3 separate regions of the Homo sapiens genome follow, and regions 1 and 2 are each linked to region 3. The links are contacts of gene promoters, found by promoter capture Hi-C in human tissues and cell types (Jung and others, 2019). All regions are on one chromosome and are shown on one strand. Each heading gives the region's core, a stretch centred on a gene start or on the middle of the fragment in contact. The rest is flanking DNA. Distances are from core to core; before and after follow the strand shown. Region 1 overlaps CEP250 (centrosomal protein 250). Region 2 overlaps CPNE1 (copine 1). Region 3 holds the start of ERGIC3 (ERGIC and golgi 3).

The links. The method cuts DNA at HindIII sites, captures the fragments that hold promoters and counts their contacts. A contact is called where the count stands out against the background at its distance.
Region 1: a fragment that was not itself captured here is called in contact with the fragment with the promoter of ERGIC3 in region 3 in 9 of the 25 tissues and cell types used here (H1 embryonic stem cells, IMR-90 fibroblasts, bladder and 6 more).
Region 2: a fragment that was not itself captured here is called in contact with the fragment with the promoter of ERGIC3 in region 3 in 13 of the 25 tissues and cell types used here (H1 embryonic stem cells, adrenal gland, aorta and 10 more).

Annotation. Positions count from the first base shown.
Region 1 is chr20:35,474,418-35,477,117 of GRCh38, forward strand. It overlaps CEP250 (centrosomal protein 250), which reads left to right. Exons shown (of 35, transcript NM_007186.6): 15 at 1,085-1,229; 16 at 2,032-2,178. CEP250-AS1 (CEP250 antisense RNA 1) reads right to left here. Exons shown (of 3, transcript NR_184017.1): 3 at 1-2,258. Among named protein-coding and RNA genes, the nearest start is that of CEP250-AS1, 15 kb to the right of the region's middle. The HindIII fragment of the contact is 3,045 bases long and covers 1-2,700 here.
Region 2 is chr20:35,643,694-35,646,393 of GRCh38, forward strand. All of the region lies in intron 1 of CPNE1 (copine 1), which reads right to left. Among named protein-coding and RNA genes, the nearest start is that of CPNE1, 20 kb to the right of the region's middle. The HindIII fragment of the contact is 5,383 bases long and covers 1-2,700 here.
Region 3 is chr20:35,540,771-35,543,470 of GRCh38, forward strand. ERGIC3 (ERGIC and golgi 3) reads left to right here and starts at 1,308. Exons shown (of 13, transcript NM_015966.3): 1 at 1,308-1,415; 2 at 1,553-1,623; 3 at 1,743-1,830; 4 at 2,052-2,171. The coding sequence starts at 1,328. RefSeq lists an enhancer at 980-1,069. The HindIII fragment of the contact is 35,337 bases long and covers 1-2,700 here.

The sequences.
Region 1 (2,700 bases), core at 74-2,573, 66 kb before region 3:
TTATTGAAGACTAGGAAATGCTTTATGGAGGAGAGAGTAGACTTTGAGCTGGGCCTTTACCTATTTGGTTAGCAGAGAGTGGGAGAAGAGCTCAAGGAACAGATTAGCAAAGAAAAGGCGGCAGGAAGGTTCATGGCATGTTCAGAGTAGGCTGGGCTGGCTAAAGGGTAAGACTTATACAGGGAAGTAGTGGGAAATGTGCTAGCTGGTCAAGAAAGGGAAATCCAGAATCAATGGCCCCAGCTAATCTGTAAATTCCCCTATATGATGTCACAGAAAAAGCAAGGACTTTGAGCTAGGCAGAAGCTTAGTTTAAATTATGGCTCTGTCACATGGACAGATTATTTGTAGAATGATGATAATATTTACCTTGAAGGGTTGCTGGGAAGATGAGAGCAATGTTTTGGAAAACGCCAGCATAGAACCTGGCATATGGTAGGTCTTTAATAACTGGGAGCAGGGATATATCTTCATCTTTGCTGTATTTCCCTCCTCTCCTGTGCCCCAGTTCCTTGTACCTGGTAGGCATGAATAGTGGAAGCTTGAAGGGCTGCCATAAGGGTCATGACTTGTGCTAAGAATGATCTCCCTGTACCAAGGAGAAGGGCAGACAACCCCTAACAACAAAAAATTAGCTGTAGCTGAATGTGGTGGCATGTGCCTGTAGCCATGGCAAGGTGAGATGGGAGGATCACATGAGCCCCCAGGAGTTTGAGGCTTCAGTGAGCTAAGAAGATACACAGAGAAGTCTCACTCTCATTTGTGCTTTCTCCATCCCATTTCCCTTCCCCCTTTAGGCAACCATTTTAGCTGACTTCTTGTTTATCTTGCCAGTGCTCCTTCATGCAAATACGGGCATATATTCTTTCTTCCCCCACTTTCTTGCATAAAAGGTAGTGTATCATGTATATACTGTTCTGCACCTTGATTTTTTTCACTTGACATGTCTTAGAAATCTTTCCTTATCAGTGTTTATAGACCATCCTCATTCTGTTGCATAGCAAAGGTGATTATATTCCTGTTACCTTTGGGGTTATGGCCCATCCCTAAGAGTTCCTCTAGACCCCTCTCTTTCCCATCTTAGTCAGGAGATGCTGATGGGCCTGGAAGCCAAACAGTCAGAATCACTCAGTGAACTGATCACTCTTCGGGAAGCCCTGGAGTCAAGTCACCTGGAAGGGGAGTTACTGAGGCAAGAGCAAACGGAAGTGACCGCAGCGCTGGCTAGGGTGCGTGGCCTCCTCTCCTCACTTGCTGGGTGGGCGGCTTCGAAAGTGTGTTCCCATGCAGCCTGCCTCATTCTTCACCTTCAAGCCAGGATCCCTCATCTTTCCTCAATCATTAGTCTGCTTCTGGGTTCTCTATTCCAACATACCCTCTATATTGGAATTAGAATGGGCTTTCTAAAGTATATACCTGGTTATGTCAGTCTCTTAAAACCATTCAACGGCTTTCTAGCTCTGTGGTGCCACATTCAAAGCTTTTTGTCATGTGCCTCAAAGTGTGTTTTAGCCTCCCCTTCTACTGCAAAACCCATCCTAACACCTCATATCCTTTGCTCCTGCCACAGCAGTAATTGCCTTCTCAGTTATTCCATGTTCTTCATGACTCTAATACTCTGCGTGTACTTTTCCCTTTCTCTGCACTACTTCTTTCCTCTTCCTTTATGTGCAAACTGTTCCTCATCTCTCAGTACACAACTTAATCGTCAACTCCTCTACCAAGCATATTTGACTCTTCCAAACTATATTAATATTTTTTTTAGTTCCCAGAGCACTTTGTGCTTACATTTTCTGTGGCATCATTACAATCATAGTCATTTCTCTATCCTAACTTTGGTATCTCTATACTGTGAGGTCCTGTCTCACTCCTTAATGAATGAATGAAGGGAAAACTTGTTTAGAATGCAGGAGAGGGAATGGAGTATTAACTGATCTCTGTACCAAAAAGCAGCAGTGTTGGGAATGTGAACTGTTTACTGTTCCAGGAAAATTGGAAATATGAAACTCTTTAATCCTTTTTGTTTTTTAGGCAGAGCAGTCAATTGCAGAGCTGTCGAGTTCTGAAAACACCCTGAAGACAGAAGTAGCTGATCTTCGGGCTGCAGCTGTCAAGCTCAGTGCCTTAAATGAGGCTTTGGCGTTAGATAAAGTTGGGCTGAACCAGCAGCTTCTCCAGGTGAGCAAAGATTTTCCTGGTCCCCACAGAAGGGCTGGGCCCTAACTGAGAGCAAGACGGATCAGCTCCCAAATGTAGGTCTGAAATGAGCAAAAGGAACATTTACAATGCAGAGGAGAGCAAAGACTGTAAGGATTGGGCTTAGCCATTATAAATATTCCCCTCCCACACCTCCAGCAGAACCACCTCTGGACTTCAGGGTAAGACACCAAGGTTGGGAAGGGGCCCATGTCCTCTGGAAGGAAGACTAGGTTTTTTGCTGGGGTTTTCTTGAGATGGATCTCCCTCTGTCACCTAGGCTGGAGTGCAGTGGTGCGATCTTAGCTAACTGCAGTTTTCATCTCCTGGGTTCAAGCAATTCTCCTGCCTCAGCCTCCTGAGTAGCTGGGATTACAGGCATGTGTCACCACACCTGGCTAATTTTTTTTTTTTGAGATGGAGTTTTGCTCTTGTTGCCCAGGCTGGAGTACAGTGGCACGATCTTGGCTCGCTGCAACCTCTGCATCCCGGGTTCAAGCAATT
Region 2 (2,700 bases), core at 138-2,637, 100 kb after region 3:
TGCACTGCAGCCTAAGCAACAGAGTGAGACTCTGTTGCGAAAACAAAAAAACAACAAAGTAAGTTCAGGTCCCCCTCTGCAATCATAAGCTTGACCGTGGAGGCCAAGAAGCCCTACCAATAGGTAAGGGCCCTCCACACTATAGTTGGAGTTGGCAAACTGAAAAGGCTCCTTCCCCAGCAGCTCAGAATCCATGACAGAAGACTGCTGCCAGTGGCCTCCCACTTTCCCTAAAAGTCAGGGAGGGGCTGGGGATAGTTGAGGGAGGGTTTCTACCTGAGGAGTCATACAAGCATCCATGATTAAAACATCTTTGTTTTCCCCTTACTATTAATTATTTTTCTCTGCCTGGATTACCCCACCTGTAAAGTAGGGATGATAATGTTAACTTTACAGTGTTATTTGTGAGGATTACATGAGGACAGTCATAGAAAGTATCCCCTGCCCGGCACAGAGTAAGTACCCAGTGTCAACTGTCCCTGTAGGTGCTCACAAACAGGGAAGTGCACCTTTGGGTCCTTCTGCAGTATCATTAACTCCTTCTTGGTTAATTGGACCAAGGAGGAGTGGATCCAGGAGGAATGCCTCTGGTCTACCTGCTCCAGGATATAACTAGCAGGACAGGGACAGCCCCCAAAAGGAGAGATGAAGACTCTTCCCCTTTGAATTTCTCAAGCTGCAGTGTAGAATCACTACCACACTAGGGAAACCAGGAGAGCAGTACCCAGATCAAAATTTGGAGCTCCATTCCTGGTCACTTTAGTTTAAGGTCCAAACTCAGTACAGATTTCCAGAAACCGAATGGCTAGGTTCATACAATCACAGAAGCTTAAAACTGGACACAAGCTTATCTAATTTAATCCCATACTGTAAAAGAAACACTGAGGCCAGAGGGAAATAATCTGTCCTAAGTCACATAACTGATGGAACCACGAACCGATTCTGAGAATGTTATTTCTATATCCAACCATTTTAGCAACAGTTCACATTTTGTAATTCACCCCAATCTGAAATCTACCCTGCCACTACAACAGCAGTGAGACTCACATGGTCTCCCCTCATGATCTATGCTAATGTTAGCCTTGCACAAACATGGAATATAATTCTCCCTATTTGTCTGACTGCTGGGGAAGGAAGGTAGGAAATCCTGGACTCCACATTTACAGGAGTTGATCAAAGGAATAAATTTTAAGTAGCAAGCATGCATAGTGCAAATAAGGTAGAACTCACCTCTAAAAAATGTGATCTGTATCAAAATTTTCAAAGGACATCTATAGGGTAGTCAATTCTGCCCCCATCCCTCCCGGCTGAAATCTACATTCTTTTAATGTCTATCACCTGTGGGGTGTCTGAGACAACAGTACTATACCGCCTTCCTGATGATCTCCAGGACTGAGGCATCACCAAATACCTGTGCATCTACAGTGTGCACAAAAGGAGTGTATATCTCCTACAGCACAAAATGAGATGAGTAAATGAACAAAAGCAGACCAGAGCTCTTGGAAAAGAAACCTACCTATTGTTCATAATGCAAGCCCCTTACCCTTCACTGGAATAAATTCATTTGGGACACTGGGGAGAGTTTAAGATGGGTCTTCAGAATTTACATGTTAGGGAAGCCGAGAAAGCAAAGGAATATTTCAACAACAGGAAACTACACTATGACAAAGACTAGTTTACACTTGTTCCTGTCTAACCATAACTTAGCAAATGGCCAGGAAAGCCACTACCTGGTTCCCGTGGTATAGGAATGTACCTAGTATAAGCACAACCAAGCACTTAGTTGTGACTTAAAACCCTCAACTGTTGAAGAACAGGAACCTTATTTTGCTTTTCCACCAAAGTATAAGTGCTGGGTGCACACCACTGCAAAAATCTGTTAGTATGAGATACAGCTATGGCTAAGCTGTACATTCATGTGAAGTTGTCTTAAAAGCTTGAAGGTGACAGGTGCTTCCAATTCCAATCTGTCAATTCAATGGTCATAGAAGTAAAGCAGCTCATCTACATCAGTAATTAGTAGTTGCATTAATGTCCATCACTTCAGTCAGAGTTACAGCACAGGGACCCTACTGGTCCCACAGGCCAAACCACAGAAGGGAGTTATGTATAAAGGCTGGGCCACTCTCCAGCCCCCACTGCAATCTAATGTGTGGAGTATAGTGGAGTGTGGCATTAACAAACTTCCAAGTGGGATCACAGAAAAATCAAGGCAATCAGAGGCACTGGTACCAGTTGGTGTGATTTAAAACCTTTTAAGAAACTGAGGCCAGGCATAGTGGCTCACACCTGTAATCCCAGCACTTTGAGAGGCCAAGGCGGGAGCATCACTTGAGCCCCGGAGTTCAAGACCGGCCTGAGCCACATAGTGAAACTACCCCTCCACTCCACCATCACCCCTACCCCAGCAATTACCTCATCTCTACAAAAAAATTAAAAAAAAAAAAAAATAGCTACTTAGGAGGCTGAAGCAGGATTGCTTGAGCCCAGGACATCGAGGTTACAGTGAGCTGACTGTACCACTGCACTCCAGCCTGGGCAGCAGAGCAAGACCATCTCAAAAAAAAAAAAAAAAAAAAAAAAAAGAAACAAAAAAACTATTTAACCCTCTTAAATCCTTCCCACTGTGTGACTTGTGGTGTAGCACAATGTGGTTGTTATCATTTGATATGAAGCACAAACTCTAAGTGACAAGGCTTT
Region 3 (2,700 bases), core at 58-2,557:
AAATGGAATGATGGAATGCACATTACTTTGCATCTTTTCCCCCTTAAAAATACATTCTTAGTATACCTAAAGGAGTAAATCTACCTCATTCTTTTGAAAAGTGGCCTAATATTCCATAGAATGGGTGTATCGTGATTTATTCAATTTATTTAATGTATCAGTGGGCATTCTGGCTGGTTCCAGATTTTTGCCATTGAACAATCTCATGCATACATCTTTATGATGTGGTGCACTTAAAATCTTTAAGAGACAGATTCAATATCTTAAGGTGTAACAACCACCCAGATCATGGTACTTTTATCCTTATATTAAAATTTTTTTCTGTTAACCTTGGATAGCTGCTTACATATTTTTTCTTTTTCAAAATTTTTCTATTAACCTTGACATGGTGCTTTTACTTCCTAAAGTGGAATTCCTGTATGAAAGCCTATGAGCTTTTATATCTTACTCATTGCAGCTGCATTACTGTGGGAGCTGTCCCTCTAGAGACACTGGGCTGCAATGGGAAGTGTCAGGGAGAGCTTAAGCTCCATATCACTTGAGTCTAAACCTGGAGGGATAGAGCGTGTCCGTGAGGATCCCAGGGCCTGGAGAGCAATTTAGGGTAATATTCAGAAAGCAGCGCTCAGGAGAAGCACTGGGACGCTGTTTAGGTAAAATCAACCCAAAAGACCCTGATTCCCAGAGTACTTTGAGGTCCAGAAGAACTGGGCTGGAAGCAGGTCCTGCTATTAATTGGCTGTGATCTTGGGCAAGTTATTTAACTTCTCCAGGTCACAGTTTGCTCTTTGGAAAACGGAGATAAGTCACACCTGCTTTCAGGGCGGACACCCTTACTTTACATCAGAATCATCCGATGCCATTCCTAGCGTTTCGGCTTCAGTAGGTGGGAATCAATTATTTGCATTTCTAATAGGTAATCAGTTGATAATGATGCGGCCGGTCCGGTACACTCGAAAAACCACTGTTCCAGGATATTCCAAGATGTTCCAAGAGTCTTAAACACCTGGTGCAGTTCCGAGCACAAGGCACACGAACGGTGCTATTAGCGTTTCTAACCCCGCAGAGAACTCCTCGCACCCCAGTCCTCAAAATCCCGCCCCGGACAGCGGAGGCCGGGGCAGTAGCTTCCAGACCCAATTGCCCGCGCAAGGGGGCGTGGCAGCATCGTTGGGCGGGGCCGCCTGTAAGAGAACGCGGCTAAAGGTGGGGCCAAGCGTGCGGTTTGCTGCGCCTGCGTGAGGAAAAAGAGGGGGGCGTGGCTCCAGGCCGGAAGAGGGAGTCTGTAGGGGCGGGCCGGCTGGCGTCCCCTTTCCGGCCGGTCCCCATGGAGGCGCTGGGGAAGCTGAAGCAGTTCGATGCCTACCCCAAGACTTTGGAGGACTTCCGGGTCAAGACCTGCGGGGGCGCCACCGGTAGGCCGCAGCGGGGCCGGGGTCGCGTGGAGGGGGGCGTCCTAGAGCTTAGCCCGGGCTCCTGGACTCTGACTGGCCTGCCGGTGTCTGAGGGAGCGGATTCGAGGCCATTCTGACCCTCGCCCCTTGTCCTGCAGTGACCATTGTCAGTGGCCTTCTCATGCTGCTACTGTTCCTGTCCGAGCTGCAGTATTACCTCACCACGGAGGTAAGGGGCGGGGCTTAGTGCGTGGGCGGGGCTTGGCATTCTAGGAGTAGGACCTTTAGGGGTGGGAGTGGGGAAGGAGAGGTTTGGGGCTAAGTCTTACTGAGGTAGCGCTGCCCCAGGTGCATCCTGAGCTCTACGTGGACAAGTCGCGGGGAGATAAACTGAAGATCAACATCGATGTACTTTTTCCGCACATGCCTTGTGCCTGTGAGTACCTCACCATGGGTGGGACTGGAGAGACCCAGGGTTCTCATGTGGGCTGCCAGATTCACACCTCCACCCTTAGGTTCTGGACTGGACCCCAGGACAACCTCCTTCTCCTCATCCCGTTCTGCCCCAAGACAGGCCCAGTATCCCCTTCCCCTCCAAAACCCACATCCCCTTGTCCCTAGGGTCCCAGTACCTTAGCCTGATTTTCCTGCTTCCAGATCTGAGTATTGATGCCATGGATGTGGCCGGAGAACAGCAGCTGGATGTGGAACACAACCTGTTCAAGCAACGACTAGATAAAGATGGCATCCCCGTGAGCTCAGAGGCTGAGCGGCATGGTAACCAGGGGAGGGGGCCGGGTCTCAGATCCCAAAGCTGGATGTACCCAAGCCTATCTGCTAGCAAGTGAACTGTGGCAGGCATAGTGATACATTAAACAACTAAGAGCTAGAGAAGTCAAGTGACTTGCCTAGGGTCCCCCAGCTAGTAAGAGTCAGAGTGAGCTAAAATCCTCTATACATATCGAGTCAGGTAATCTACCTGGCTATTATTCTCAGAGGTCCTCAATACCTGCAGATGGTAGTTTGAATACCAGAGGTTTGAAGATAGGTCTTATGTGCTCTTGCCTTGGTAGAACTGTCTAGATGGACCCAGGCTTCTTTGAGTGTTTGCTTTCCCAGCCCATTGGCTTAATTCAGCCCTTAATGCTCTTCCCCTTTGGAATGCAGGTGGTTTAATGAGAATTTAGGTTCTCAAGTCAGATTGCCTGGGTTCACATCTAGCTTTGTCTCCTGCAGTCTGTGAGCTTCAGCTAGAAAGTGGTAATAAAACAGTAGTACCAACCACATGGAATTGTAAGATCAAATG